2 separate regions of the Homo sapiens genome follow, and region 1 is linked to region 2. The links are contacts of gene promoters, found by promoter capture Hi-C in blood cells and fetal thymus (Javierre and others, 2016). All regions are on one chromosome and are shown on one strand. Each heading gives the region's core, a stretch centred on a gene start or on the middle of the fragment in contact. The rest is flanking DNA. Distances are from core to core; before and after follow the strand shown.

Region 1 (2,588 bases), core at 1-2,500, 600 kb before region 2:
ACATATATATAGTGATGTTTGGTCTTCACTCCTTAGATTCTATTTAATTAGTCTGGAATCAAGGCTTTTTTTTTTTTTTTTTTGAGACAGAGTCCCACTCTGTCGCCCAGGCTGGAGTTCAGTGGCGTGATCTCGGCTCACTGCAACCTCTGCCTCCCAGGTTCAAGCGATTCTCCTGCCTCAGGCTCCTGAGTAGCTGGGATTACAGGCTTGTGCCACTACGCCTGGCTAAATTTTGTATTTTTAGTAGATACAAGGTTTCACCATGTTGGTCAGCCTGGTCTCGAACTCCTGACCTCGTGATCCGCCCGCCTCGGCCTCCCAAAGTGCTGGGATTACGGGCGTGAGCCACCGCACCCGGCTAATCACGGCATTTTTATAAGCCTTGTGATTTCTGTGATTCTAATGTTTAGATTCTAATGCTTAGCCAGGGTTGAGAACCACCGATTTAATCCAATCCCTTCTCCTAGTTTTACTAAAGAGAAAACTATAACCTAGAATGGTGAGCAACTTGCCCAAAGTCACCCAACATGTTAGTGCAAGGTGCACCGAGAGAGATTGTACCAGTAGCAAGAATATGCTCATGATGTTTATAATTGTTCTCGCTGGAGTTAATCCCGGAAGCATTTCTTTTTAGTTCACAGAGGCCTTATATAAATTACTTTTTACTTTGGCACAGCACTTACGCTTCTGCTAACACTGAAATGGGTTCGCATTCCTGACCACAAAAGGACAGAGATGAAATTCTACATTCACACAGCCCGCCAAGTTAGCCAAGCTCCCTAGGAGGCTGTCTGAAGTGCCTAAAATGCTTCTCTACAATGATCACCCAGAGCTGAGAGACTTCAGTGGGGTAGTGAGAAGAAAGAGGGTTGGGAGAGACAGGAAAGCATCCTCTCCTTGAGGGAAGGAACTGGGAATCAACTGAGAACCAGCTAGCACTGCCAGGAGGTGAGGAGAGGGAAGGAGAATAATTTAAATGAGGCCAGGGAGCTTCTGCTCCCTCAATTAAACGGTGATAGACGGCCTGACACCACCAGCCCTCGAAGCCTGAGATCCACAGGAAATGTTAAAAACTGGCTTGGCAATATAAGTATTAGAAAATACTTCTTCCAACACTCACCAAAAACTAAGCTCCCAATAAAGAACACTTCACCTGCCCTCCGCAACCCTCTACCTCTCTTCCCCGCCAAGATCTTCACCCAAGGTCTCAAGAGGGCGGTTCCCAACCTCACGTGACACAGCGGTCACGTGACATGGCCCCGGGGAGCCGAGGTGAGCGTTCCAGCTTCCGGAGCCGGAGGGGGCCCGGCGTACCCAGCCCCCAGCCCGACGTGACCATGCTGTCCCGCCTCCTAAAAGAACACCAGGCCAAGCAGAATGAACGCAAGGAGCTGCAGGGTGAGCCAAATATCCTGTCGGCCGTTTTCTCTTCGGCCGCGGCCTAGCTTCAGCCCGGAGCCTGGATCTCGAGTAACTAACCATATCCAGGGAAAGACGCCAGCTAGCGGGCAACGGGCATGGGGGAGAGGGAATTTCAGAGAGGCTTTTTTTGAAACTCCTTTCCCTTGCCAACTGGCTCCGGTCCCTTGGGCAATACTCCGGTCCCCTCGGCAACGCCCCCAATCCCCGACCTGCCGCACCTTAGCCCCGCCCCTGCCCCGGAGCGCCCTGCCTATTGGCCCTGGGAGCCTCTCGTCCTGGCGGCGGGAAGGAGCGACTCTGGAGGGAGGAGGGTGTGGGGAACCCCCCAGAGATGGGCTTCTTGGAGGCCTGAAACCACCGGAACGGAGGTGGGGCACTTGTTTCCTGAGTCCGGGCTGGAAATCTCGGAGTTACCGATTCTGCGGCCGAGTAGTGGAGAAAGAGTGCCTGGGAGTCAGGAGTCCTGGGCGCTGCCGCTGACTTCCTGGCGTCCCTGAGTGAGTCCATTTCCCTCCCAGGGTACCAGTTTCCTCATCTCTAAAATGAAAGAGGTTGCGCTATGTTTTGCAAGGTCCTTTTCAGCTCCGGCATTCAGAGATTAGTTAAGAAATTTCGGCAACTAGCAGAATAGTAATGGATGGGTAGGGAACCTTTAACACTACCCCTCAAAAAACCAAGTCTCCCCTCCAATTCCTTTTCCCCCTCTCCCCAGAAAAGAGGAGGCGAGAGGCTATCACTGCAGCGACCTGCCTGACAGAAGCTTTGGTGGATCACCTCAATGTGGGGTATGGACCTCTTATCAACATCAGTTTCCTCCTTCCCCACCCCGCCCAAGTTTAGGCACTGGCCAGTCTGGCCCTCAAATAGCTGTTGAAGGGGTGGGATGTTCCACTAATTCCCCTATCCTACCCCGCCCCTCCCAGCTCTTTGTAGAGCAACTTGAGTCAACTCTGAGTCCTAGCACTGGGCAAGGGAGGAACAGCTGCCGTGGTTAGAGAAGCAGCCAGATTTCCCCTTCCCCACGTTAACTTCCCTGGCATTTACAACTTGATGCCATCTGCCCACCTCCCTTCACCCTTCCAAGTCCAGCTGTCACTTCAGCAGGAGGGAGAGCACCCTCCTTCATTACAGCTTACCACCCTCTCCTCTGCCTCCCACCCTCT
Region 2 (4,147 bases), core at 1,058-3,557:
CTGCAAGCTCTGCCTCCCGAGTTCACGCCATTCTTTTCGTCTCAGCCTCCTGAGTAGCTGGGACTACAGGCACCCACCACCACGCCCGGCTAATTTTTTGTATTTTTAGTAGAGACGGGGTTTCACCATGTTAGCCAGGATGGTTTCGATCTCCTGACCTTGTGATCTGCCCACCTCAGCCTCCCAAAGTGCTGGCATTACGGGCGTGAGCCACCGCGCCCGGCCTTTTTTTTTTTTCAAGACAGAGTTTTGTTCTTGTCAACCAGACTGGAGTGCAGTGGTGCGATCTTGGCTCACTGCAACCTCTGCCTCCTGGGTTCAAGTGATTCTCCTGCCTCAGCCTCCTGAGTAGCTGGGACTATAGGCATGAGCCACCACGCCTGGCTACTTTTTTGTATTTTTAGTAGAGACGGAGTTTCACCATGTTGGCCAGGCTGGTCTCGAACTTCTAACCTCAGGTGATCCGCCTGCCTTGGCCTCCCAAAGTGCTGGGTTTTGGTTTTTTTTTGAGACAGGGTCTTGCTGTGTTTCCCAGGCTGGAGTGCAGTGGCACAATCACGGCTTACTGCAGCCTCGACCTCCTGGGCTCAAGTGATCCTCCCACCTCAGCCTTCCAAGCAGCTGTCACTACAGGCACATGCCACCATGCACTGCTAACTTTTGCATTTTTTTGTAGAGTTGGTGTTTTGCCATGATGCCCAGGCTAGCACTGTAATCTTAACACTGCCTTATATATTGCTTATTAGATACACCTTTGTGTACATGTGTGTTGTTTTCGATTAAAATTTCCTAATTATGAGGATAAGACCTTTTATTCTTATTTCTGTTTTTTCATTTTTTATTTTTAGCTCCGACTCAGATTTTGAACGGATGTTTGCATGTATACCACAGTGCTACATTAAAAACCAGTCATGTGGATGTGGAGAAGGGTGCTGATCAGGACTCCCTGTTTGCTAACAAATTCTACAGCAGAAACAAAGTATTAAGGTTTGCAGCCAGGAAGCAAGTGCATGGGGAATAAGCCTGCAGCTTCTTCCAAATGAGACAGAGCCAAATCTTTTTTCTGAGTCTGTTTTCTTCATTTCTATTAAACCAAGGTCCTTTTTAAGCAGTCGAATTTCATCCAAAGCCAGAGTGAGCTACTTTGTTTGGGGGAACAGTAACAGTTACCTCCACCACTGACTGGCTGCCATCTGGATTGATCCGGAAAGATCCCATCTGAATGGTCTTCTTGGGGTCCACCTGGGCAATTTCCCATTCTAGTTCATCCACCAGAGCCCTGCATGCTGGTGGAAGAGGAGAGAATGAGAGCAGGGGACAGGGTAGGGGGTAGGGTGTGAGGAGAATGGGATCAACCCAGGATTTCCATTCATCCTTCTCCCAGGCCTTGGATCTCATGCCCTCCCAAGGCTCTGCTTCCTCCACTTCTTTTTCCCGTTGTGCCTTTACCTCCACAGTGGAGATCCTGGCTCCTCCGAGCCCAGGCGGTTCCCAGCAGGGCCCCCAGAAGCAGGGCCAGCCAACCCCAGCCTTTCATCTTTAGCGTAATGGGGTCGCTCCACCTGGGTTTGAGTGGGAATAAAACATAAGTGTGAGGAGCCGACTCCATTTTTCCCTGACCCCCCCAATCCTCACCCCAAGGCTTTCAAAGGCCTCATTGTGACTCTGGCTCTACTTTCCAGGAAATGGCCGGGACACAAAGGGGCTTCTCTGTTCCAGCGCTTGAGGGCTCTGATTCCCCCAGGGTGGTGGGTGGGAGCGCGAGCTCAGGACTTGCGGCTCAGCCCCAGACTCTACGTGGATAGGTGAGGCCCTAAGTGTTGGTACTTTAGCACTGCATGCCTAGGGTTCACGGGGCTTTGTGGCAGCTACAGGAGGTAAGTTGGCGATTACGTGAGGACTACAGGCACTAGGGAACTGCCGGCAGGGAGCCCTCAGTCAGGCCAGGAGGCCAGCGAGGAGAGCAATAACTAGGGCCCATTTGGATCCTGCACCGAAGATTCCTGCGTCCCCACCTCCAGCCCGTAAGTGATTACCCGTACGGACACCAGCCCCCTTTCTAAGGACTCCGCCATTGCTTTCGCTTCAGTCCATCCCCAACCCTCAGCGCCCAGCGCCTCGCCGCCCGCATCCGTCCCACCTCTGCTCCCAGGGCCGCCGCCGTGGCCCAAGCGCTGGAAGACCGCTGGACTCTCACTTTGGCCCCAGTGGCTCCCGAAACTACACCTGGCTGCAGGGAGCAGGGCTGTCCGGGATTCTCCAGAGCGCTTCGCCGCCTGCCACACACGGGGTGTCCCGGCGACCGCCTGACCCAGCTCCCCTGACGCTAACTGGTACCTAAGCGGGACTCCAGCGTGCTGCGGTGCGAGCCCCAATCAGACACCGACCCCAAACCCGCCCCTCCAAACTCTCGCGCGAACAGGCAGCTTAGGAGAGGCTCCCGAACAGCAAGGACCCCGGTCAATCGCCGAAGGACCCAGACTTGCGTGGCGAACAGATCCACGTGACCACCAGGGGTCAGCCGTAGAATAGGAGTGGCCTTAAGCGACGACAGAGTCCGGGCGTGCTGTATGGGAGCGGCTAGTCGTGCGCGTGAGCCAGCCCAGGTGGGCTAGGACCTTCAAAACGGTGCGCTGCCGGCCAGCGAGCAGTCCAGGTTTCAATACACAGGAAACTACATCTCCCAGGAAGCACCGCAGCACCGGACCCATCTTTGTGAGCAACTACAAGTCTCAAGCTATCCTGGGACCTGTAGTTTGTCGGCTTACACAATTAACGGAAACCATACTGTACATCTTCAGTCTGACTTAGGGTACTGGGCAGCTATAGCAAAGACCCAGCATTGCCCAGAAAAGGCATAAATTATACCTTTTTCCCCTTTTTTTGAGACGGAGTCTCGCCCTATCGCCCAGGCTGGCATACAGTGGCGTGATCTCGGCTCACTGCAACCTCCGCCTCCCGGGTTGAAGCAATTTTCTGCCTCAGCTAGGGTTACAGTCGCCATCCACCACTCCCAGCTAATTTTTGTATTTTTAGTAGAGACGGGGTTTCACCATCTTGGTCAGGCTGGTCTTTAACTCCTGACCTCGTGTTCCACCCACCTCTGCCTCCCAAAGTGCTAGGATTACAGAAGTGAGCCACCGCGCCCGGCCTAATTATACCCTTTCATATCCATAACTTTGGATTCCGGACCTTTACCTTCAAAGGAAGGAGAGGAAGACTGAAGCCAGAGAACCCACACTAGCAGTTCTCTAATGAGATAAATAACAAACGATATTTTATTTTTATTTTATAAAACATGCAGTTTACAACAAATTTTTAAAAAATGGAACAAAACTTGGGACAGGCAAGTGGGATGGAAGACAGATGCTTCTCAGCCATCAGCAGGAATAAATGAAGCCGGCAGCCAAGCTTTGTCCAGGATCCAAAGGCCCTTTTGGCAATGGTATTGGCAACACTGGTTTGCTTGGGCCACCAACACTCTACTTGCTGGCCCCTCCAGGTATCCCTGAAGCAGTTGGTGACTTGTGCTAAGTCTTGAACTACTGTGGTATCCTCTGTCACTGTCCAGGACTTCAATCCCTAGCCAGCTAGGAACTTACAGTTATGGTTCCAGGAGCTTCTCTGCCTGGATATTAGTCACCCAGGATATTAAGAATACCAATTACTTTCCATCTGGGTCAATTCTAGACTCCATGTCTGTACCACTGTTTTGCAAAGAATGAAGAAGGAATGAATCTGGCTCCTAGAACCTTTGCAACAATTCTGCTGTGTTCCAGTTCAATTAATAGCACCATCTGTGACCCTAGACCCTGAGCACGTCCAGTACTGGAAGTGGACAAGGTATAGCCAACTTAGGAAGCCATCTCCCAGTTCTGGGGCTATAGAACAGTAAAGGGAGAGGGCCGTGGTTCTTTGGGAAGGGTAGTCAGAGCGCCAGCACTGAGGAGAAGACAGCTGCATCTGTCAGAGACAAAACCAAAAGCATGATTCAAGCTGAGTGGAGAAAAAGCATCTTCTCATACTTCCTATGAAGGAAAAATGCAAGAGAAAAAAGGGCATGGACCTTCCCTGAACATTTTAGACTTGGGCAAGAGGAAGTTATAGTTAATGGAGAGTTTCGATAAAATGTATTTTACTGAATGTT

What was found. The method cuts DNA at HindIII sites, captures the fragments that hold promoters and counts their contacts. A CHiCAGO score of 5 or more calls a contact.
Region 1: a contact is called between the fragment with the promoter of BLOC1S1 here and the fragment with the promoter of CNPY2 in region 2, in 3 of 17 cell types (naive CD8 T cells, non-activated CD4 T cells and total CD8 T cells). The highest score is 8.1, in naive CD8 T cells.

Annotation. Positions count from the first base shown.
Region 1 is chr12:55,714,796-55,717,383 of GRCh38, forward strand. BLOC1S1 (biogenesis of lysosomal organelles complex 1 subunit 1) reads left to right here and starts at 1,251. Exons shown (of 4, transcript NM_001487.4): 1 at 1,251-1,401; 2 at 2,138-2,210. The coding sequence starts at 1,257. BLOC1S1-RDH5 (BLOC1S1-RDH5 readthrough) reads left to right here and starts at 1,239. Exons shown (of 6, transcript NR_037658.1): 1 at 1,239-1,401; 2 at 2,138-2,210. It also overlaps a transcript of ITGA7 not described here. RefSeq lists enhancers at 1,296-1,435, 1,716-1,955. The HindIII fragment of the contact is 4,864 bases long and covers 1-2,183 here.
Region 2 is chr12:56,313,681-56,317,827 of GRCh38, forward strand. CNPY2 (canopy FGF signaling regulator 2) reads right to left here and starts at 2,308. Exons shown (of 6, transcript NM_014255.7): 1 at 2,141-2,308; 2 at 1,450-1,562; 3 at 1,171-1,286. The coding sequence starts at 1,537. PAN2 (poly(A) specific ribonuclease subunit PAN2) reads right to left here. Exons shown (of 26, transcript NM_014871.6): 26 at 3,256-3,963. The coding sequence ends at 3,929. CNPY2-AS1 (CNPY2 antisense RNA 1) reads left to right here. Exons shown (of 2, transcript XR_002957416.2): 2 at 849-1,128. RefSeq lists enhancers at 2,293-2,881, 2,382-2,431, 2,512-2,661. The HindIII fragment of the contact is 5,570 bases long and covers 1-3,409 here.